Linked DNA regions of Homo sapiens: all the other regions are linked to region 1. The links are contacts of gene promoters, found by promoter capture Hi-C in blood cells and fetal thymus (Javierre and others, 2016). All regions are on one chromosome and are shown on one strand. The core of a region is centred on a gene start or on the middle of the fragment in contact, and the rest is flanking DNA. Distances in the headings are between cores, read along the strand shown.

Region 1 (3,997 bases), core at 440-2,939:
TCGGGCAACGGCTTTTCCAAGTGTCCACATCCTGCAGGTGTTTCTTGGAGTGAATGTAGAGGCTACTGCGAGCAGAGAACCTGGCACAGCAGCCTGCCACAGGACACACGAAAGGCTTTGTGCCCAGGTGGGTTATGCTGTGGCCTTTCAGATGTTCCGCCCTCGTGAAAGATTTCCCACAGCCTTCCACAGGGCACATGAACCTCCGGTCATCGTCGTGCTTTCTTTTGTGCCTTAAGAGTTTGGACATGCTAGTGAAGTTCCAGCCACAGCCATCAAAGTCACAAAGGAAAGGTCTCTCGCCGGTGTGACTCCGCAGGTGAATTTTCAGCCTACAAGCCTTGTCATATTGTTTGCTGCAGCCAGGAAAAGAGCAGGAAAACAGTTCCTGTTCCCTGAAATGGGCGCGGTTATGGGAAAACAGAGCACTCACTGTGATAAATGTCTTCTTGCAGCCAGAAAACGCGCACTGGTAAGGCCTCTCCGGTTCGAAGTGGCTGCGCTGGTGGGCGCTGAGTTTGGCCTGCGTGGGGAAGCTCTCCTCGCACACCTCGCATTTGAATGAGTTCTCCTGCTCATGGCCCTTCATGTGCGCCTTGAGGTTGTACACTGTGGTGAAGCTCTTGCCACAGCCCTCTGCCGGGCAGCCAAAGGGCCGCAGTTTGTCGTGCGACTGCAGGTGCCTCTTGAGCTTGTAAGAGGTGGTGAAGGTCCAGCCGCAGCCACCCAGGGGGCATTTGAAGGGCCTCTGGCCCTGGCTGCTGCTGTGCGTCAGCAGGTGCACCTTCAGCTGGTGCTTCTTGGCGAAGGTTTGCCCGCACTGCGCCTCGGGGCACAAGTACAGCACCACGCCTGGGCCGGAGCCCAGCGGTCCGCGGGGGCCCAGGGCGGCGGCCGGGCCCTCCGCCTCCTCCTCAGGCGCCGGAGCTGGCGCGGGTTCGGCCGGCTCAGCTAGCAGGAGGTCTGGCGGCAGCTCTGGGCAGTCACCCGGGTGCGCGGCATGCGGGAACCCAGCTTGCGGGGCGATCAGACACCCGGGCTGCTGGGCAGGAGCGGCCCCTGGCTCCCAGGCGTGTGGTGGGGGCGTGGCCAGGGTGAGGACGCCGTTCTCAAAGCGCAACAGCAGGTCCTGGTTGTGGATAGTGACTGTGCCCGCGAAGGCCGCGGCGGGGCCGGGGGCGGAGATCGGGGCCGGAGTGGGAACCGCGGACAGGCAGCGGGGGCCTAGCGCAGTGGGCCCCGCGGGATTCGCGCCGCTCTCGCCCCCCTGGAGCCCCGGGCCCTCCTCGGCCTCCTCCCTCAACACAGGCCCTGCGGCCTGACCGGAGCCCGCGGTCTCCACGTCGCCACCCACCGGGTCAAGCAGCACCAGGAAGAAGTCGTCGCCGCCGCCGCCGCCGCCGCCGCTAGGTTGATCGGTCCTCGGCGCCAACAGGCTTGGGCCAGGGCCCCGTGATGCCGTGCTGGCCTCCTCGCGCCGCCGCCCGGGCCCGCCATCTTGGGGGCCCCGGAGCAGCAGGAGGCGGCGCGTGGGGACCTGGCCAGCCGGCGAGTCAGGGCCTCGGTGGACTCGGCCGCCACCCGCGGGGATACCGCCGCCGCCGCCGCCCTGTAGTGTCCCGCGAGCCGGGAGCAGCTTCGGGATTTCCATCTCTGCGTCCGAGAGGCTCGGCTGGAACCAGAGCCGAGGAGGAGGCGCGATCCCGCCCCCTGCCGCGGGCCTGAACACGTTCCTGAAAGGGGAAAAAAAAATGTGCAATGCGCAGAAACTGGCCCTATCAGATATTAAAACGTATTTAACGCCACAGTGATTTAAATATTCTGGTACTGGGTCTCTGGAACAGAATAGAAAGCCCAGAGGTAGAGCCTGGTATGCATAAATACGTTCTACAGTTAATATAAGTAAGTAATTAAGGGGGTCTTCTGAGGTAATGGGGAAATGACGACAGCTTGTTCAGTAATGCTGTGGAACACCTAGGTATCTATCCGCTGGAAGCAATTTTAATCCATGACTCATTGTATATACCCAAATAAACACACCCCAGCCCCTCCCAGTGTTAGATATGTTGCTTCGTACTTTCTGTGTGTTAAAATTTGCTGGCTGGCTGGCTGGCTGGACTGATGGATGAAAGACAATTCCTGAGAGAAAAAACTGTCTCTGTGTCAGCATTAAACCACCATAGCGCTGGCAGTTCTGCTGAAAATGTCCTTCCCCTTCCCACCTCCCCGCGGGACAACTTCCATATTCACAATTATCTTGAGCAAAGTCTTCGGTACAATTTGCCGCATAGTTCAAATTTTGTCTTGCTGATACAGACATTAGAATGAGTGAGAGATGCGGCCAAAACAGGTTAGCACTCTTCAGCCTAGAAATTCAAAGTCTGGAGGATGAAACAATTTACACTGAAATCTGGAAAAAACCCAACCTTCTCCTGGCTTCTCCCTATACAGTGCACAACCTAAACCAACTTTTGCCCTTCCACCATCGGTTGTACTGTGATAAATTTCATGTCTGCTCTCACAGCACAATGAGGGCATTCATTCCTCAGTTTACTCTGCCTTCTCCAGCACGTGGAGGTCTCTGGGCAGGAGTTTCAGTTAAATGTGTTTAGGTTAAATCCTGAGTCACTGCAATGGATTCTGCCAAGTAAAAGGCACAGACGATCTTGTCCAATCAACCTGGTGTACCTGTTCACATTTAAGTGTGGTGGCCCAGGCTTGCTGGGCCTGTGGTGCCTAATGATCTTATTAATGATGATGACAATCCTTCATTTTGTCCGTTACGACTGAGTTGGGAATTGACACAAATATAGGGTGAAATATCTGAGATAAGAAAGCTTAGAGTAATGACTAGATTGGTGGTGGTGGGGGAGCGGGGTGTAACCTGTTGTTTAAATACTCCCAGCTCTCTCGCCCTCTTTTAATGACAGTGGACACTTGGTCTCTTGAAAATCAAGCTATTCATCCATAACTATTTGAACCTCATCAAAATGTCTACTCCACATACTTTTCTTTCTATTACTTTTTCTGGTGGAAGCATTTTTCAAATCTGAGGTATAGAAGAGTGCATAAAACATATTTGTATCGTTTAGATTATTTTACAAAAGCAGACACCTGTGTAACCAGGACCAAGGTCAAGCAATAGACCACTGCCAGCCTTCCAGAATACAGCCGCTGTACTCCTCCCAATCACAACCCACACTCTCCTATATGAATATAGTCATTGCCCTGACTTTGTAATAATCATTTCACTGCTTTCCTTTATAGCTTTATCACTTTTGTACGCATCCGTAAACAATAGAGTTGATACGAAGTTGTATAAATGGAATCATACGGCAAGTTTCCTTTTATAACTTGTTTCTTTCACTCTGTATTATACTTGAGACTCATCCATGTTGTTCATAATAGTTATAAGTAAGTAGATCCTTTGTCTCCATCGACTGTCGTTCCAGCATATGCTTATAGCAAAGTGATTATGGTATGATTATACCACTCCATTCTACAGCAGATGAACATTAGGATTGCTTCTATTTTTCAGCGATTATTATGAACATTCTTGCACATTTCTCATGGGACACATGTGTAAAAATCTCTCTAGGGTATATATCCAAGAATAGAATCACAGGGCCATAGGGTATGGATATCCTGAGCTTTACTAGATGATGCCAAATTGTTCTCTGTAGTGATTGGGCAAGCTGTCAATCCCACCAGCAGCACAGAGAGCCCCTACTGCTCCACATCTTCACCCACACCAAGTATTGCCAGAATTTAAATTTTGCCAGTCTACTGGTGGGCAATACCCAAATTACTAGTAAGCTTTAGCACATTTTCGTGTTTATGAGCCTTTTGGAGTGTCTACTCCGAAGAAGGCCTATTCAAATTTACCTCTTTTAACCCATGTTTCTATTCTATTGTTCATCTAGTACTTACTGACTTAATGAGCCTGTTAAATATTTTAAATACTAGTCCATACCTGTGGCCAAAATATTCCCTTGTT
Region 2 (3,997 bases), core at 471-2,970, 870 kb after region 1:
CTACCATGCTCTGGGCTGGTACTGGGGGGTGTCTGCAGAGTCCTGTGATATGAACCATCTTCAGTTCTCTTAGCTGTGGATACCTGCACCTTCTCCAGTGGAGGTGGCAAGAGAGTAAACTGGACTCTGTGAGGCTCCTTAGTTGTAGTTGTTTAATGCACTAGTTTTGTACTGGTTGGCCTCCTGCCAGGAGGTGGTGCTTTCAAGAGAGGATCAGCTGTGGTAGTATAAGGGAGGATCAGGTGGTGGGCAAGGCCTTAGAACTCCCACGAGATTATGACCTTTGTCTTCAGCTACCAGCATTGGTAGGGAAGGACCATCAGGTGGAGCCACGGTTAGGCCTGTCTGAGCTCAGATTCTCCTTGGGCAGAGCTTGATTTGACTGCTGTGGGGAGTAAGGTTGTGGTTCCCAGGTCAATGGAGCTATGTTCCCAGAATTATGGCTGCCTCTGTTGTGTCATGCAGGTTGTCCAGGAAGTGGAGGAAAGCTGGCAGTTACAGGCGTCACCTAGGATCCACACAACCCAAAAGGCTGGTGTCACTCCCACCGTTCCCCCCACCCTCCACAGCACTGAGTTTGTTTCTAGGCAGTGGGCAAGGAAGGCTGAAAACTTGTTTCATTCAGCCGGGCTTTTGTGCTTCCTCATCTGTCAAGTCTGCACAACCGATTCATGCCCTCTTCTAAGTTCTGGCCAGGAAACTGAATTTGGTTGGAATTGTCATAAAGTCTAGCTGGAGATTTTCTTCTTTCTGTGTTTTTTTTTCCCAGTTTCTCTGGCAGTGCTCCCCAAGGACCCCTGTGAGACAAGTTAGAAATGGCTTCTCTGGGTACCCAGAGAGCCCACAGGGCTTTTCCTGCTGCCTCCTCTAACCTTGTATTTTGCTCAGCTCTTCAGATTGTCTCAGCTCCAGGTAAGGTCAAATCCTTCTTCTGTTATCTGAACCTTCAGGTTCCCCAGTGAGGGTGTGTATTCAAGGGCAAACAATTCCCGTTTCCCACTCTCACAGTTTGGGCACTCAGAGTACTTGGGCTGTCTTCTGAGTATTGCAGAAGCAGTCTGCTTCTTTCAAAGGGTCTGTTAATTCTCACAGCTTTCCTGGTATTCCCACAGTAGTTCTTGGAGCAAAAGTTTACAATGTGAGTCTCCACATGCTGCTCTGTCCATCTAACTGGGAGCTGCAATTTAGTCCGCCCTTCTGTCTGCCATTTTTATAAATCTTTTGTTGAGCTTTTTAAAATATGTTTGCTGGCCACATGCATGTCTTCTTTTGAATGGTGTTTGTTCCTGTCCTTTGCCCACTTTTTAATGGGATTGTTTTTTTCCTTGTAAATTTGTTTAAGTTCTTTAGAGATACTTGATAGAAGACATTTGCCAGAAGCACGGATTGCAAAAATGTTCACTCATTCTGTAGGTCATCTGTTTGCTGATAGCTTCTTTTGCTGTGCAGAATCTCTCTAGTTTAATTACATCCCATTTGTCAATTTTTGTTTTATTGCAATTGCTTTTGTCATGTTCGTTATGAAATCTTTGCCCATTTCTATTTCCAGAATGGCATTGCTTAGGTTGTTGCATTAGTCTGTCCTCATGCTGCTGATAAAGACATACCCCAGACTGAGTAATTTATAAATAAAAAGAGGCTTAATAGACTCACAGTTTAACGTGGCTCAGGAGGCCTCACAATCATGGTGGAAGGTGAAAAGCAAGTCTTACATGGTGGCAGGCAAGAGATAAATGAAAACAAGTGAAAGGGGTTTCCCCTTATAAAACCATCAGATCTTGTGAGGCCTATTCACTACCACCAGAACAGTATAGGGGAAACTGCCCCCATGACTCAATTATCTCCCACTGGGTTCTTCCCACAACACGTGAGAATTATGGGAGCTACAATTTAAGATGAGATTTGGGCTGGGACACAGCCAAACTATATCAGTTGTTTTCCAGGTTTTTTATAGTTTTAGGTTTTACATTTAAGTCATTAATCCATCTGGAGTTAATTTTTGTATATGGTACTAGGAAGGGCTCCAGTTTTCATCTTCTGCATATGGCTAGCCAGTTATCCCAGCACCATTTATTGAATAGGGAATCATTTCCCAATTGCTTGTTTTTGTCAGGTTTGTCAAAGATCAGATAGTTGTAGGTGTACAGTCTTATTTCTAGGTTTTTTATTCTGTTCCATTGGTGTATATGTCTGTTTTTGTACTAGTACCATGCTTTTTTGGTTACTGTAGCCCTGTAGAATAGTTTGAAGTCAGGTAATGAGATGCCTACAGCTTTTTTCCCCTAGTTTTGTGAAGAAAAGTCAATGGTAGTTTAATAGGAATAGCATTGAATCTATAAATTGCTTTGGACAGTATGGCCATTTTAATGATATTAATTATTCCTATTCATGAGCATGGAATGTTTCTCCATCTGTTTGTGTCATCCTTTATTTCTTTCAGCAGTCTTTTGTAGTTCCTCTTGTAGAGATCTTTCACTTCCCTGGATTGCTGTGTTTTTAGATATTATATTCTTTTTGTGGCAATTGTGAATGGGACTGCATTCCTGATTTGGTTCTCAGACTGATTGTTGTTGAGGTATAGAAATGGTAGTAACTTGTGTACATGCATTTTGTATCCTGAGACTTTGCTGAAGTTCTTTATCAGCTGAAGAAACTTTTGGGTCAAGGCTATGAGATTTTCTACATATAGAATCATGTCATTTGGAAACAGGCATAATTTGACTTTCTCTATTTCTATTTGGATGCCCTTTATTTTATAATCTTGCCTGATTGCCCCGGCCAGGGTTTTCAAACTTGTGTTCAATAGGATTGAGAGAGGATATTCTTGTCTTGTGCCACTTTTCAAGGAGAATGCTTCCAGCTTTTGCTCATTTGGTATAATTTTGGCTGTGGGTTTGTAATATAAGGTTCTTATTTTTGAGGTACGTTTCTTTAATACCTAGCTTATTGAGGGTTTTTTTTTTAACAAGAAGGGGTGTTGAATTTCATTAAAATACTTTTCTGCATCTATTGAGATAATCATGTGGTTTTTGAATTTAGTTCTGTTTATGTGATGAAATATATTTATTGATTTGCGTATGTTGATATGTTGACCTAACCTTCCATCCCAGGGATAAAGTTTACTATATCATGGTGGATAATCTTTTTGATGTGCTGCTGGATTTGGTTTGTGAATACTTTATTGAGGATTTTTGCATTGAGGTTCATCAAGGATATTGGCCTAAAGCGTTTGTTTGTTTGTTTGTTTGTTTTTTTGTTTTGGTGTCTGTGTGTGTCTGCCATGTTTTGGTATCAGAATAATGGTGGCCTCATAGAATGAGTTAGGGAGGAGTCCCTCCTCAATTTTTCAAAACCGTTTCAGCAGAAATGATACCAGCTCTTCTTTGTGCATCTGGTAAAATTCAGCTGTGAATTCATGTGTTTCTGAGCTGTTTTTGGTTGGTAAACTATTTATCACTAATTTAATTTTAGAGCTTGTTATTGTTCTGTTCAGGGATTCTATTTCTTCTTGGTTCAGTCTTGGGAGGGTGTATGTGTTCAGGAACTTATTTTTTTCTATGTTTCAGTTTATGTGCATAGAGGTGTTCATAGTATTCTCTGATGGTTGTTTTTATTGCGGTGCAGTCAATGTTTATATTTTCTTATTTATTTCTAATTTTGCTTATTTGGATTTTCTTTCTTTTCTTCTTTAATAGTCTAGCTAGTGGTCTACTTATTATTTTTTTCCAAACAAACCTTCCTGGATTGATCAATTTTTTGATTAATTTATCGTGTCTCAATCTTCTTCAGCTCTGAGTTTGGTTATTTCTTGTCTTCTGCTAGCCCTGAGGTTGGTTTCCTCTTGGTTCACTGGTTCTTTTAGTTGTGATGTTAGCTTAGTAATTTGAGATCTTTCTAACTTTCCGATGAGGACATTTTGTGCTATAAATTTCACTCTTAACACTGCTTTATCTTTGTCCCAGAGATTCTGGTATGCTATTTTCTTTGTCTCATTGTT
Region 3 (3,997 bases), core at 991-3,490, 850 kb after region 1:
ATAAATATTGATGCAAACATCTTCAACACACTACTAGCAAATCAAATTCAACAATACATTAAAAAGATTATTCATCATGACCAAGTGGGATTTATCCCTGGGATGGAAGGATGGTTCAACAGTGGTGATACATAGTATCAACACAATGGAGGACAAAAACCATATGGTCATTTCACTTGATGCTGAAAAAGCATTGGATAAAGTTCAACATGCCGTCATGATAAAAACCTTCAAAAATGGGTATAGAAGGAACATACCTCAACATAATAAAACCCATATATAACAGACCCACAGCTAGTATCATACCAAATAGGGAAAAACTGAAAGCTTTTCCTCTAAGATCTGAAACATGACAAGGACGCCCATTGTCACCACTGTTATTCAACATAGTACTGCAAGTCCTAGTTAGAGCAATCAGACAAGAGAAAGAAATTAAGGGCATCCAAATTGGAAAGGAAGAAGTCAAATTACCGTTGTTTGCAGAGGATTTGATCTTGTGTTTGGAAAAGCATAAAGATTCCACAAAAACTATAAGAACTGATAAATTCAGTAAAGTTGCAGGATACAAAATCAACATACGAAAATCAGTAGCATTTCCACATGCCAACATTGGGCAATCTGAAAAAGAAATTTAAAAGTAATTCCACTTACAATGGCCAAACATAAAATTAAATACCTAGCAATTAACTCAACCAAAGAAGTGGGAGATCTCTTTAATAAAAACTGTAGAACACTGATGAAAGAAATTGAAGAGGACACCAAAAAATGGAAAGATAGTCCATGTTCATGAATTGAAAGAATCAATATTGTTAAAACGTCCATGCCACAAAAAGCAATCTACAGGTTCAATGCAATACTTATAAAAATACAAAAAACATTCTTCACAGAAATAGAAAAAACAATCCTAAAATTTATATGGAGCCACAAAAGACCCAGAATAACCAAAGCTATCCTAAGCAAAAAGAACAAAACTGGAGGAATCATATTACCTGACTTCAAATTATACTACAGAACTACAGTAATCAAAACAGCATGGTATTGTCACAAAAACAGACACATAGACCAATGAAAGATAACTGAGAACCCAGAAACAAATCCACACACCTAACAAACTCATTTTCCACAAAGGTGCCAAGAACATACACTATGGAAAAGACAGTCTCTTCAATAATTGGTGCTGGGAAAACTGGATATCCATATGCAGAAGAATGAAACTAGATAGCTATCTTTTGCCATACACAAAAATCAAATCAAAATGTATTAAAGACTTAAGTCAAAGACCTCAAACTATGAAACTACAACAAGAAAATATGGGAAAAATCTCCAGGACATTGATCTGGGCAAAAATTTCTTAATTAATACCCCACAAGCAAAGGCAATCAAAGCAAATATGAACAAATGGGATCACATCAAGTAAAAAGCTTCTGCACAGCAAAGCAAACAGTCTATAAAGTATAGGTGCAATGGGAGAAAATATTTGCAAACTACACTTTTGACAAGAAATTAATAACCAAAATATATAAGGAGCTCAAACAACTCAATAGGAAAAAATCTAATAATTTGATCAAAATTGTGACAAAGATTTGAATAGACCTTTCTCAAAAGAAGATATACAAATGGCAAACAGGCATGTGAAAAAGTACTCATTGTAGTTGATCATCAGGGAAATGCAAATCAAAACTACAATGGGATATTATCTCACTTCAATTAAAATGGCTTATATCCAAGTGACAGGCAATAACAAATGCTGGCAAGAATGCGGAGAAGAGGGAATGCTTGTACACTGTTGATGGGAATGTAAATTAGTACAACCACAATGGAGAACGATTTGAAGATTCCTCAAAAAACTAAAAATTGAGCTACCATATGACCCAGCAATCCCACTGCTGGGTATATACCCCAAACAAAGGAAATCAGTATTATCAAAGAGATATCTGCACTCCCATGTTTGTTGCAGCACTGCTTACAACAGCTAAGATTTAGAAGCAACCTAAGGGTTCATCAACAGATACATGAACGAAGAAAATGTGGTATATATACATAGTGGAGTACTAATCAGTCATAAAAAAGAATGAGATCTAGTTATTTACAACAGCATGGATGGAACTGGATATCATTATGTTAAGTGAAATGGGCCAGGCACAGAAAGACAAACATCACATGTTCTCACTTATTTGTGGAATCTAAAAATCAAAACAATTGAACTCATGGAGATGGAGAGTAGAAAGATGGTTACCAGAGGCTGGGAAGGGTAATGGGTGGTGGGGGAGAGTGGGGATGGTTAACGGGTATACAAAAAGAATGAATAAGACCTATTATTTGATAGGACAGCAGGGTGACTATAGTCAATAATAATATAACTGTATAATTAAATTGTCTGTAACACAAAGGATAAATGCTTGAAATGATGGATACCCCATTGTACATGATGTGATTATTACACTTTGCATGTATCAAAACATCTCATATACCCCATAAATGTATACAACTACTAGGTACCCAGAAAGATTTTACAAAATTAAAAAGACCCAGCAAACAAAAAAAATTTACATTCAAAAAGATAAAAAGAGTTCCTAAAATTGTAAAATATGTATCTATTCTAGACTTGTATGTACATACTAACAATGCCTCAAGTATACAAAGCAAAAATTGTCAAAAGTGTAAGAATTTGACAAATACACAAATACAGTGGGAGATTTTAACTCTCTTGGTAACTGATAGGTCCAGCAAACAAAAAACTTAGGAATAGAGAAGATTTAAACAACACAGTTAAATTTAATGAACAGAACACTACACGCAAAAATTAGATACACAATCTTTCCAGGCACACATAAAACACTAGTTGATCATGTTCTCTAGGACATAAAGCAAGTTTCAACAAACACTAAATAATCATTATCACATAAGCAATATTGTCTTTTAAATGGAAAACAATGACAAAATGTTAAGCTAAAAAACAGCTATATACAATGACTTAGTTTCTAAATACTGTCTCCATAAAAGATAACAGAGGTCTATAGAGAAATGATTAATGGGGTAGGAAGTACAAGACAAGCTTGAAAGTAAGGAAGTAAAAAAATTTTAAAGTAAGTAAAAAGTGTGTTTAAGAATGATGACACATGTCAAAAGACAGGGGAGCCAACTTGAATGGGCAGCCAGTCACTAAATCTGAGACAATTTGGGTATTAAAATAAATAATAACAATAGGGTATTTTTAAAATAAAGTAAAAATCTATGTGTCCAAAGTAATTAATAAACAAATAAATGGAGAAAAAGCTCTACCTTGATGTAGAATATAAACTAATAAATGTACTAAAAATGATGGAGTTTGAAAATTACCATTTTGCATTCATCATAGCAATATCTGATTCAGTCAAGAATTATCAATGGATTTGAAAACCAGTGGATGATAATTTAATGAGGAACAGGATATTTACATAGTCTCAAAGTATCCCCAGCAAAATCATTAATTATAAAGAGGAAAATGATAACTGTAAAGTGGATTAATCTAGCAACTATTCACCACATTAACCAAGTAATCAAAGTTAACTTTACTACTAAAGGGTCAAACCAGCATCATGTACCACCATTATGATGCCCTGAGAACAATACATTACTTCTGTGGTGCTTTTGCTAATATGCGTACTCTGAATAATGGGGAAATGGCACACAAATTTAAATTAAAGGACAATCTATGAAATAAGTGTCCTGTATTTACCCAAGTGTCAATTGTCGATGTGTGATATTGTGATATATATATATTGGTTTTTGTCCATGGTTCCTGGCTTATAACTCCCAAATCTCTTGTTATTTCCTAAGTGACTAAAGAAATAAGCATATCTCTTGTTAAAGTATTTGGTCTTTTGTCTTTGGTTCCTGAAGCAGCTTTGAAACAGCTTCAGAGAAATAAAAGTGAGAGACAGTTTCTCTCTCTCTCTCTCTCTCTATATATATATATATAAAAATATATATATATACATACATATATATATATATA
Region 4 (3,997 bases), core at 436-2,935, 830 kb after region 1:
GGTGCCATTGGCTGGGTCCAAGCTGGGGCCAAGGGGTTCTTATTCTCCCTGGGAACAAAGGAACTTCGGGGTGCTGGGGGCGGGGCGATTCATGCTTGGAAGTCCCTGGAGACTGCCAGGGGAGCCCATGGTGGGGTGCCCCTGCCTGCCCTTTCTTTCAGAGAGAGCTGTGGAGCCAAGGCGCCATCCTGGGAATAAGCACAGGCCAAGGGCCAGTCAGGAGTTCCTCTCTCCTCCTGCTTCAGCCTGTGGACGGCTTGTCGCCATCTGTTTAGCACTCCTGGGCTTTCCCCAGCACTGGTGCTCAGCTGTATCCCAGTGCCAGAAACTGTTTCTGCTTGATGGCAGTAGGGCTCCACAAACACTAACTATAACTGTAACCCTGCTCCTCCACCCCGAGGTCCTCCGCCTTTTCCCATGTGAAAAAAAAAAATAGGAAGGAGAAAGAGAAAAAGTGGGGAGAAAAAGAAAACAGCCACTAGGTCCCAGGTTGACCACCAAACTCAGGGGTCCCAATGACCAAGGCCTGGTAGGCTGGAGACCCTGTGGGAATCCTGTTTCGGCATCCAGCCTTTGCCCTTCCTTTGGCCCTCTCCAGGTTTTGTGGCTGCTTCTAGTGCAGAAAGTAATGACAAAGGACACATAATCATGGCCACTGGGACACCACAGGTGGACTGGGATCATAGGGCTGCCATTCCAGGAGAAAGTGGGAGCCACCCAGCTGGCTTACACAAGGATTTACCCAAGGACTGGGGGCCTATGTAAACCTGGAGCTCCTGGTTGAGATTACCACATTGTCCTGGCACATGCAGGTCACCAGAATGGGCTGATGGCTCAATAGGCAGCCACAGGGCCTGAGGCAGGAGTATCCCTCAGTGGAGACACAGAAAACCTTTTCAATATTCTGAGAGCATTGTGTTCCATGCTGCTCTCCAGGTACCAAGCGGTATGGGTAGGACATGCAACCTTTAGAGCAACGGGGTCATGGCTTTGCACCCAACATGGGCTCTGTATGAAGGCCCTGCACCAGGCTTTTGCATGTCTGCCTGGAGACCCTAAAGGGGCAAAATAATTTGTCCTCCACCGTCTCATTCATTATCTGAGCTGAGTATCTGGCAAGCACCAGAGTTTAGCTTGAGGAGCCCAGAGAGCTCTGTATCAAATCAAGGCACAGCTGCCCCACCACCCTCAAAGACACTCTAGCCTCAACCTCCACTTCCACACCCACCACAGGAACACAGAGGGGCCCAGGAGAAACTGAGCACTGCCGGGGGCCTGGCTACCCATGCACTTCAGCAGAATGACCAAGATGCCGGGGGTACTAACTAGTGAGCCATCACGTTCCAGGGAGCCTGCATGCTCCATCATCAAATATGCCAAGTGGGTCTCTCTAGGAGAGCCACCTGTGGAACCCATCCGGAATATCCCACCCATTCCTGGGCACATATGAGTGCCTGGGTTCCAGTCAGAGAGGTAGCCAAATGCCTCAGACAATAGTCTGTCTCGTCCTGTCCTGCCCCATCCCGACAGATGCCTTTCTCGACCCTGTTCTGCTGGATGGGTCAACAATGTGCAGATGCCTGTTGGACCTGGCTGCCTTTCTTTTTTTCTTTCTTTTTTTTTTTTTTTTTCGAGACAGAGTCTCACTCTGTCACACAGGCTGGAGTGCAGTGGCACAATCTCGGCTCCCTGAAACCTCTGTCTCCTGAGTTCAAGCAATTCTCTTGCCTTAGCCTCCCAAAGTAGCTGAGATTACATGCTAATTTTTGTAATTTTAGTAGAGATAGGGTTTCACCATATTTGCCAGGCTGGTCTCAAATTCCTGGCCTCAAGCAATCTGCCCACCTTGGCCTCCCAAAGTGCTGAGATTACAGGTGTGGGCCACCATGCCTAGCGGACCTGGCTGCTTTTAATCCAAACTTTGATCTCTTTCCCAGGAGGGAGTGTGCTGCCTAGGGACAAGTGTGGTGCACACAAGCAAGTGGCTTGTTTTCCTGTTTATGAGACCTGAGCAGGTTCATAGAGGATTCTGTAGCCACCCTCCTCCAATACCCACACACACCTCCCCTGTTTCCCGGAAATACAAGCTCCCCTCACCATACTACAGCCCCAGTGGTTGTATTTTTTGAAGACAAGCATTCCTTCCTTCCTTCCTACAAGCTCCCCCCACCATGCTACAGCCCCAATGGTTGGATTTTTTGAAGACAAACCTTCCCTTCCCCGCTCCCTTTCTCCTCCCCTCCCCTCCCGTTCCCTTCTCTTTCCCTTCTCTTCTCTTCTTTTTCCCTTTCCGAGAGAATAATCTAGAAGGAATGATGGAAGCAGAGAATCCTCCTACTTTTGCAGGTTTCCCCAATGTGGTCAAGTGGGGGGAGCCCTGCTGAAGTGAGAAGGGTGTACCTTAGTTGGTTCCTCATTTTGTTTTTTAGGTTTTCTTTTGTTTTTCGGATGTCAAGTGCTCACTGCAAAGGGCCACTGAATTGATGGTGCACGAAGCGAAGGAAGGGATGCCCAGAATTAGTGTGTTTAGTGGTTACAATTTTTGTTGTTTATGAAACCACAATGAATAGTTATATATAGTTGCTGTGAAATCAATGCTGCCTTCTTATTTAATCAACGTGCATTTTAAAATTATTCCAATTAACCCTGAGTTCATTTGTCATCCTATTCCTCTGCAGAGTACAAGATGCACTTCTACAAACCTTCAGAAAAATCTAATATAAGGAAATATATTAATGTATTATGAAATAGAACATGTCTCTTGTGGACACTGAATTCTCACAATTAGAATTTTCAATTAACACCTTCCTAAAGTTCTTTAGCAATATATTCTAATTCTGATCATATTTGAGAATTATACTTATCAAAAGCCAGTCAATATTATTTATCGTTGTTATTACAGTTTAATCAGTACTGTTGTGTTAAATAATTTACATTATGTAAATACTAAAATGTGTCTAGGGTCATTTTCTTTTCTTTTCTTTTCTTTTTTTCAGGGAGAGTCTCACTTTGTCACCCATGGTGGAGTGGAGTGGCGCAATCTCGGCTCACTACAACCCCCGCCTCCTGGTTCAAGTGATTCTCATGCCTCAGCCTCCAGATTCACTGGGATTATAGGCATGCACCACCAAGTCCGCTAATTTTTTGTAGAGACAGGGTTTCACCATGTTGGACAGCCTAGTCTCAAACTCCTGACCTCAAGTGATCCGCCCAGCTTGCCCTCCCAAAACATTGAGATTACAGGAGTGAGCAACTGTGCCTGGCCATTTTAGTTTTCCTATATTTATTTACTAAATCTTGCACATTATTTTTCCTATTCGTCTGTTGCCTTCCTTAATGCACTTCGCTAATATGTTATTCTTTTTATTCATTGACAGAGGCAATGTTTTTAAGTACATTATACACTAACTCTTTTTTTATAACCTGATCTTGGTCTTGTTTATGTTTTCTTTCAGTGTAAGTATTTTCTTTATTTAGGTTGTCAATTGTGTTACTTTTTTTTTTTCTTTTTTAGCTGTTGTTTCATGTATCAGGCTTACTTTAATAGGGTGTATCCTTTTCCAAATGGATCTTTTAATTGTTTTTTATTTAGCTGTGGATAAATTAATATATTATAAATTTAACCATTTTATTATTTATTTATTTATTTTATTATTATTATACTTCAAGTTTTAGGGTATATGTGCACAATGCGCAGGTTAGTTACATATGTATACATGTGCCATGCTGGTGTGCTGCACCCATTAACTCGTCATTTAGCATTAGGTATATTTCGTAATGCTATCCCTCCCCCCTCCCCCCACCTCACAACAGTCCCCAGAGTGTGATGTTCCCCTTCCTGTGTCCATGTGTTCTCATTGTTCAATTCCCACCTATGAGTGAGAACATGCAGTGTTTGGTTTTTTGTCCTTATGATAGTTTACTGAGAATGATGATTTCCAATTTCATCCATGTCCCTACAAAGGACATGAACTCATCATTTTTTATGGCTGCATAG
Region 5 (3,997 bases), core at 778-3,277, 810 kb after region 1:
CAGGCTGCAGGGACACTTGCCTTCTGCCAGGCACAGAGATCCGCGAAAATGTGCGGGACTGGGTGGACTCTGCCTAAGCCAGGGTTTCCCCGACTGGGGTTTAGAGCCCTAGAACAAATCGTACCTGCCATTGGAACCGCTTGGAGAAGCAGCTACTCTAGAGGCCCCGAGACAGATCAGCCAGGCAGCCTGAAGACCCGTCAGCCCACAGAGTGGAGCTGCACCAGCAGCCATTTTGAGATACGCATAAGGGAAGCCACTGGCCACTGACAGCCAGAAAATGGGGCCGTTTAATCTGGTCTCTTTTGTGGGCAGTTCTGGGATGCCCTTGGCTGGGGCCACAGTGGGGCAAGAAAGCCCCTATCCACCCAGGAAACAAAGGAGCTTCGGCGTGTTGAGTGTTGGGCGACTCATGCCCGGCAGTTTCTGGAGACTGCCAGGGGAAGCCATGGCTGGCCGCCCCGACTGCCCTTTCTTACATACAGCTGTGGAGACAGGCCGCCATCCTAGGAATGAGGGCAGGCCAAGAGCCAGCAAGGAGTTCCTCTCTTGTCCCGCCTCAGTTTGAGGGCCACACGCCACCATTTACAGCCCCATTTACAGCCCGAGTGGAAGACATTGTGGGCAGTTTCGTGCCTGAGGTGTTGTGTGTGTCTGTGTACGATAATGCTTAAACCCGCACATTTGTACTAGTGTGAGCTTACTTCTGTGTGTGTGTGTGTGTCTGTGTGTATCTGTGTGTGTGTCCGCTTAGGCGTGTTTAATGTGTGTGTTTGTGTCTGTGTGTGCATGAGTCTCCATGTGCGTGTGTGTTTGTGATTTAATTTCTGATTGGGGGGTCCCTTGTGAGTGTATGTATTGTGTCTGTGTCTGTGGTCTGTGGGTGCCTGCCTCTGTGAGTGAGAGTGGGCAAATGGGCATGTGGCGGAGACACCCTGCAAAAACTGAAATCCGGATCAATGTGTTCACATGGCTGGACTGAAAAAAAAGGAGACACGGGACAACTTGCCAAACTTCCTAATGGCTCAGGATTACACACCTAGTGCATCCACGAACAGAACAGGAAATAACAGCAAGCCATGAGGAACTGGGTAAAGGATCTGTTCACCATGACATTTCACTTAAAAGCAACATGTGGGAAGGTTTTTGGTATACCAGAGAGACTAAACTGGTGACCTTCATCAGTGCTAAATTAAGAACAAAAGTGAAGCTTTCTCTAGGCCTAGTACTGCAGAGAGACATGCTGAATCACCAAGGAGCAAAAGAAGAAGCAGTCTCCTAGAACACTTGTCTGTCCTGATCTGAAAGTGAAGGGAAAAAGAGAAGCAGAGGCAAAAGCAAAAGACAAAAAAGAAGAAGAGGCAAAAGAAGAGGAGAAGGAAAGAAGAAGGAGGAGGAGGAGGAGAAGATGGAGGAGGAAGAGTAAGAAAACAAAAAAGAGAAGAGGAATTAAAAGAGTAGGAGGAGGAAGAGGAAGAATAACCAGAAAGAGAACAAGAACAGAAAGTGGGAGGTCCATGCCACTGTAGCTGTCCTGAAGGATCTAGTTAAGGAAGACCTCAGTGTGTGGTGACATACACAATGAGTGACAAGGAGCCCCAGGTCACCTCCCGTTTAAAGGACATACAAACGAGAAGCTTCTTGTCGATGGGATCTTTCCTGAGTGGGATCAAAACTTTGATCCACAAATTGGCCTGCAGAACTACAGAGTACACAAGTGTAGGCTGAACCTTACCCTGAGGATGTCATCAGCTGACTGCAAGGGGCCACCAAGCCCAAAGTCTACAAAACCAAGGCAGTGAAGAACCACCCAAAAGAAAAAGATGAAAAACGGGGAGGAATCGGACACCAGGGAAAAGAGGTAATCAGCCACCCATGGCAATATGGAGACACGGCAGAAAGAATAAGGAAATGCCAACTTCTCCTCGCAGGGTTCAGCTGGAGTCCTTCTAATTTCCTTAGAAACAGTAAGCCTGTTTTCCTTAACCATGTCCCCGTGCATAACTGACCCTGCCTTCTTGGCTGATTGTGACCTCCATAAACAGAAGCGGACGAAAAGTAAAGACAGTGAAGAAGAAAAAAGTGAAGGGAGGAAAACTCCAAAAGTACACAAAGAATCAGAGTGAGCAATGAGTTACAGAGTAAACTGGAAAGCAGAGTTCATCATATGGAAAGCTGACAGCCCTGTGAGTAGCCTCCTGTGTCCTCACACAGGATAAGGCGCCAGCCAGAAGAAAGCATAAGCCCCTAAATCCCGGGTCTGTACCGCGTCTGCACAAAGATCTGTTGGGCCAGGAGACTGCCCTGTTCCCTGCTGCCCACACCTCAACCCCATCCCGCACACTCCATCAGCAAATATTGGGAAGGCAGAGAGAAAGCAATAAGAAAAATGAACAGGAGGGAACGTGAAAGCTTAACAACTACCTCCTGAGGGTTGCTTAGATGACGGGAAACAGTTGTGAATGAAGGTGTCTAGGCAGAAGCTTGTCATTACTGGAGAAGATACTTGTATGTGCCTGAGGACCTATGCAACCACAGATGAAGACAGGATATAGTTCAGACGTGATTGATGTTCAAAGGTAAAAACAAGAACCTCTGACACTAAAACTAACAACACCAAAGTTCCTGCGTTCCTTACTTCACCCGATGTCCCAAGGCACAAAAGGAGGGGCCCCGAGGTGGATGGTATACACTTATGAGAAAAGGACACACATTTGTTGACAAGGAAACAGTTGAGATGTGATGGGAGTTAAAAGTTAAAACCGAGGACCTCTGACACTCACAGTCCCAGTGCCAACCCTAAAGACGCAGTCCAGATCTTCCTGCATTCTTTTCTTCTCGCGTTCTCCCTAGGCACCGCCAGAGGCGCACCCTGGTGCATGCTACCTACATATGAGGAAAAAAAAAAAAAAAAAAAAAAAAAATCCGCATTTGTTGACAAGTGACAGAAAGGGGGTGACTCCTGTTCCATGGTCATGTGGTTCTTCTGCCCGGAATGCCGTGAGAGTGCAGGCCCGCTCACGAGATTGACATTCCTCCTTGTGAGAGTGGTTCACACACCCCCAGCGTGGGAATCATCACCCGTGGGGTGAATTTTCTGCCCTAAGAAGGGCTGCTCGTCCCCAGGGTGGCCTACACATCCAGGAAGATTTGTAACAAGCCAAGACAGAAAACATTTGCAATATTCGGGGAGCGTTGTGTTCCATGCTGCTGTCCAGGCACCCAGCGGCATGAGTAGCCTATGCAACCTTTAGAGCAAGGCGGTCGCGGCTTCGCATCCCAACATGGGCACTGTATGATGTCCCGCATCAGGCTTTCTTATGTCTGCCTGGAGACCCTAATTATGGGCGGCATAATTTGTCCTTGACGGTCTCATGCATTTTCTGGGCTGAATATCCGGCAAGCACCAGGGTTTAGCTCGAGAGCCCAGTGAGCCCTCTACCAAACCAAAACACAGCCCCCCGCCCGAGCCCCTTCTCCCCCAAAATACTCAAGGCTCAACCTCCACCTCCACACGCAGCACAGGAAATCAGACGGGGTCCAGGCGAAGTGGGGCAGGCTGGGCCCTGGCTACCCATGCACTTGGGTACAAGGACCAAGATGCCTGGCAACTAAGTGGTGAACCACCACGTTCCACTGAGCACGCGTGCTCCGTCAGACATGCCAAGAGGCTCTCTCTCCAGGAGAGCCACCTGTGAAACCCACCCGGCATGCTCCTCCCACCACTGTGCACAGACGAGTGCCTGGGCTCCAGAGAGGGAGGGAGCTGAAGGCCTCAGACAGGAGTCCGTCCCGTCCAGTCCCATCATCCCAAGAAACATCCGGCCCGACTCCCTGCAGCTCCATGGCTCAACAAGGTGCGGATGCCTGCTGGACCTGGCTGCTTTCCATCCAACTTTGATCCCTTCCCCAAGAGGAAGAGTGCTACCTAGGGACAAGTGTGGTGCGCACAGGCATGCAGCCTGGTCTCTTGCTCAGGCGGCCTGCGCAGATTCCT
Region 6 (3,997 bases), core at 500-2,999, 770 kb after region 1:
TCTTCTTCCCCTCATAGATGTGTATCTTTCTCCATGCTGTGCTACTTAGAGTTGGGGGAGGGGTGATGTGCATAATGTAAAACTGTCCTTTTTCCACTCTATTATTTTTTCCCCTTTGGAAATGGAGTCTTGCTCTGTCGCTCAGGCTGGAGTGCGTGGCGCAATCTTGTCTCACTGCAAACTCCGCCTCCCAGATTCAAGCGAATCTCCTGCCTCAGCCTCCCAAGTAGCTGGGATTACAAGTGCCTGCTGCCACATCCGGCTAATTTTTGTATTTTTAGTAGAAACAGGGTTTCATCATGTTGGCCAGGCTGGTCTCAAACTCCTGACCTCAAATGATCTGCCCTTTCTCCACTCTTAAATGCATCTTTCTTTATTTGCTACACCCAGGTGCTGTAATCTCTCACTTGGTTTCTTTAGGCCTTGTAAAGGTAATTTTGCGCATGAATAGTTGTTCAAATGGATACTTCTGCAAGGTTATGAGTGCTGAAGAATTCCATTTTGCCATCTTGCTGCATAGGAATTTAATAAGTTGGGAGAGGCTGGCCAGGCATGGTGGTTCACGCCTGTAATCCCGGCACTTTCGGAGGCCAAGGGGCGGGCGGATCACCTGAGGTCAGGAGTTCGAGACCAGCCTCAACATGGAGAAACCCTGTCTCTACCAAAAATACAAAATTAGCTGGGTGTGGTGGTGCATGCCTGTAATCCCAGCTACTCGGGAGGCTGAGGCAGGAGAATTCCTTGAACCTGGGAGGTGGAGGTTACAGTGAGCCAAGATTGCACTATTGCACTCCAGCCTGGGCAACAAGAGTGAAACTCCGTCTCAAAAAAATAAAATAAAAGTTGGGAGAGGCTGCCTTGGGAGGTGCTAGCCAGACATCTATTGTTTTAAACAACTTGAGATATGCACATATAATACAATCCGTGATTTAAAGTGTACAATTCAATGGTTTTGGATATTTATAGATAAGCATAGATATGTGTAAATATCACTACAGTCAATTCTTATGCATTTTCATTAACCCTGAATAAAATCACACAGTCCTTAGACATCAATTCTCAATCATAACTTAAGGGAAACTCCATCCTTAAGCAAATATTTTTTCTGAACCTATAGACTTGCCTCATGTGGACATTTTATTTATATGAAATTATATAATATATGGTACTGTGTGACTGGCTTTTTTCACATAGCATAATGCTTTTGCTTTTCCCAGACCACCAGGCAAGAATTATTTTCCTTTTTTTTTTTTTTGGCATAATGCTTTCAAGGTTTATTCTGGCAGTATGTATACTTATTTCCTGTATATGACTAAATTAATATTCCATTGTGTGAATATACATTTTGTTTTCCATTCACCAGTTGATGGGCATTTGAGTTGTTTCCACATTTTCCTAGTACAAATATTTCTGCTGTAAACCGTCCTGTACAATTTTTGTTTGAACACCTGTTTTTTAGTTATTTTGGCTATGTATCAGGAGTAAAATTGCTGGGTAGCATGTTATTTCTTTTTTTTTTCTTTTTTTTGAGATGGAGTCTTGCTCTGTCATGCCCAGGCTGGAGTGCAGTGGTGGGATCTCGGCTCACTGCAACCTCTGCCTCCCAGGTTCAAGGGATTCTCCTGCGTCAGCCTCCTGAGTAGCTGGGCTAATTTTTTATATTTTTTAGTAGAGATGGGGTTTCACCATGTTGGTCAGGCTAGTCTCGAATTCCTGACCTCAGGTGATCCATCCACCTCAGCCTCCCAAAGTGCTGGGATTACAGGTGTGAGCCACCACGCCCAGCCATTATTTTTAACTTAGAGAGGAACCACAAAATTGTTTGCCCAGTGGCTGCACATTTATCATTACCAGCAACAATGCCGCATGTTCCTGTTTTCCCACATTCTAACATTTATTATTTTGCTATTTAAAATAATAATAATAATAAGTATCCTACTGGGTATAAATTGCTGTCTCTTTGTGATTTTGATTTGCATTTCCCTGATGACTAATAGTGTTGAGCATCTTCTCATGTGTAATTTGTGATTTGTATGTCTTCTTTACAGAAGAATCTATTCAGATCCTTTCGTTATAAAATTGGTTTATTGTTTGTTTTATTATTTAGCGGTAATTACTGTTTATTTTATTTTATTATTTTGTTTTATTTTTTGAGATGGCGTCTTGCCCTGTTGCTTAGGCTGGAGTGTGCATTGGTGCAATTTTGGCTCACTGCAACCTCTGCCTCCCAGGTTCAAGCTATCCTCCCACCTCAGCCTCCTGAGTAGCTAAGATTACAGGCATACACCACCACACCCTGCTAATTTTTTTTGTGTGTGTATTTTTAGTAAAGATGGGGTTTCATCATGTTGGCCAGGCTGGTGTCAAACTCCTGACCTCAAGTGATCCCCCTGCCTCAGCCTCCCAAAGTGCTGGGATTACAGGATGAGCCACCATGCCTGGTCTTATATATTTTAGATACAAGTCATTTATGAGACATATTATTTGCAAAAATAATCTTGCACTGTGGCTGTCTTTCAAATTTCTTGACTGTGTTCACTGAAGCAAATTTTTTTTCAATTTTAATTATGTCCAGTTTATCTTTTTTTTCCTTTATTAACTTGTGCTTTGGTGTAAGAATTAAAAATCTAATACTTAATTCAAGGTCACAAAAATTTATTCTATATTTCCTCCCAAGAGTTTTATAGTGTAACCCTTATATTTGAGTCTTTGGCCTATTTTGAGTTAATTTTTGTATTTTGCATGAGGTAGGGGTGGAAGTTTTTTGTTTTTTTGTTTTTTTTTTGCATGTAGATACCAAGTTGTCCCAGTACCATTTATTGAAAATAGTTATTTCCCCTTTTGTCTTGCCTCCTTCTCAGAAGTTAATTGGCTGCAAATTAACTTTTGTGAGGGCTTATGTCTGGACTTTGGATTCTATTTCATTGATCAATATTTATATCCTATGCCAGTACCACATAGACTTGTTTATTGTAGCTTTGTAATAAGTTTTAAAATTTGGAAATGTGACTCTTCAAACTTTGTATACTTCAAGATTGTTTTGGCTATTCTGGGTCCATTACATTTTCATATGAACTTTAGAATCAGGTTATAAATTTCTTCAAAGTAGGCAACCTTAATTTTGATAAGGGTTGCATTGAATAGTTTGATTATTTTGAAGAGTGTTGTCATCTTTATAATACTGTGCCTTCTGATGCATAAAATGCCTTTCACCAGATGTCCTTTTAAAGAAGTCTGTGTTTACTGTTTGTGATGTTCAGCCTGGCTCAGAAGTTTTAAAACTCTAATGTGTGATTAGTAATATTATACAATCTTTAAAATAACTGTCTATAATTTATTAAGTGTGCATAACATAACTCTAGAATATACATAAATGTCACCATACCTCCATTTGTGATTTTTCAGATTCTTTAATTCTGATGCTAGGGACTAATTTCAGAGGATTGGGTAAAATACTCAGGTTTCACAATCTCTCTAAATATTCATTTTACAATGTAAGCTTTAATTACTTATTTGAACAAATTGTATTATTATTTTATATTTTAATTTATAAGCCAAGTTTATCTGACATTTTCAGATATAATATATGCTTTCAAGTCTGTTTATCTTTTATTATTACAATTCAAAGGTAGAAGCTTTATTTTTTTATATCCCTGGAAATTATTATAGTCTATAAATTTTTTTCTATAACCTTGTAATTCCTGAAACATTTATGAACTATATGAAATATTGAAAGCTGCTATCTAATGTTTTCCCATTTTACTTGTATTTTTTCACCATAATATTTATTACTGTTTTTAATTAGGATATTCTATTTGTTCAATACTAAGCATTTTAGAAGGAAAGTAGAAAATTACAAAAAACAAGCACATCAACCATTTCAGTCAGAAAAAAATAGTTAAGATGTAAAATACTAGGATGAGGATTAGCATAAAAAGATGTAGATTCCATGCAAAAACTGACAGCAAATTAAAGAAAGTGTACTGGAAACAATTCT

What was found. Contacts are between HindIII fragments. The CHiCAGO score rates a contact against its expected background, and 5 or more counts as called.
Region 2: a contact is called between a fragment that was not itself captured here and the fragment with the promoter of ZXDB in region 1, in 1 of 17 cell types (monocytes). The highest score is 5.2, in monocytes.
Region 3: a fragment that was not itself captured here is called in contact with the fragment with the promoter of ZXDB in region 1 in 4 of 17 cell types (M0 macrophages, total CD8 T cells, fetal thymus and 1 more); the score reaches 9.3 in M0 macrophages.
Region 4: a fragment that was not itself captured here is called in contact with the fragment with the promoter of ZXDB in region 1 in 9 of 17 cell types (monocytes, total B cells, total CD8 T cells and 6 more); the score reaches 12.1 in monocytes.
Region 5: a contact is called between a fragment that was not itself captured here and the fragment with the promoter of ZXDB in region 1, in 8 of 17 cell types (M0 macrophages, total CD4 T cells, activated CD4 T cells and 5 more). The highest score is 8.9, in M0 macrophages.
Region 6: a contact is called between a fragment that was not itself captured here and the fragment with the promoter of ZXDB in region 1, in 7 of 17 cell types (erythroblasts, total CD4 T cells, total B cells and 4 more). The highest score is 9.2, in erythroblasts.

The regions. Positions count from the first base shown.
Region 1 is chrX:57,589,703-57,593,699 of GRCh38, reverse strand. ZXDB (zinc finger X-linked duplicated B) reads right to left here and starts at 1,689. Exons shown (of 1, transcript NM_007157.4): 1 at 1-1,689. The coding sequence starts at 1,651. RefSeq lists silencers at 812-1,001, 1,062-1,351. The HindIII fragment of the contact is 4,972 bases long and covers 1-2,839 here.
Region 2 is chrX:56,715,809-56,719,805 of GRCh38, reverse strand. No RefSeq gene overlaps it. Among named protein-coding and RNA genes, the nearest start is that of NBDY, 11 kb to the left of the region's middle. The HindIII fragment of the contact is 5,458 bases long and covers 1-3,997 here.
Region 3 is chrX:56,739,249-56,743,245 of GRCh38, reverse strand. The region is part of intron 2 of NBDY (negative regulator of P-body association); the gene reads right to left. Among named protein-coding and RNA genes, the nearest start is that of NBDY, 12 kb to the right of the region's middle. The HindIII fragment of the contact is 1,634 bases long and covers 1,424-3,057 here.
Region 4 is chrX:56,755,951-56,759,947 of GRCh38, reverse strand. All of the region lies in intron 2 of NBDY (negative regulator of P-body association), which reads right to left. Among named protein-coding and RNA genes, the nearest start is that of NBDY, 29 kb to the right of the region's middle. The HindIII fragment of the contact is 7,558 bases long and covers 1-3,997 here.
Region 5 is chrX:56,779,710-56,783,706 of GRCh38, reverse strand. All of the region lies in intron 2 of NBDY (negative regulator of P-body association), which reads right to left. Among named protein-coding and RNA genes, the nearest start is that of NBDY, 52 kb to the right of the region's middle. RefSeq lists enhancers at 259-338, 998-1,137, 3,948-3,997. The HindIII fragment of the contact is 775 bases long and covers 1,640-2,414 here.
Region 6 is chrX:56,817,774-56,821,770 of GRCh38, reverse strand. NBDY (negative regulator of P-body association) reads right to left here. Exons shown (of 3, transcript NM_001348129.2): 3 at 2,592-3,997. Among named protein-coding and RNA genes, the nearest start is that of NBDY, 91 kb to the right of the region's middle. RefSeq lists a silencer at 1,321-1,615. The HindIII fragment of the contact is 3,504 bases long and covers 1-3,501 here.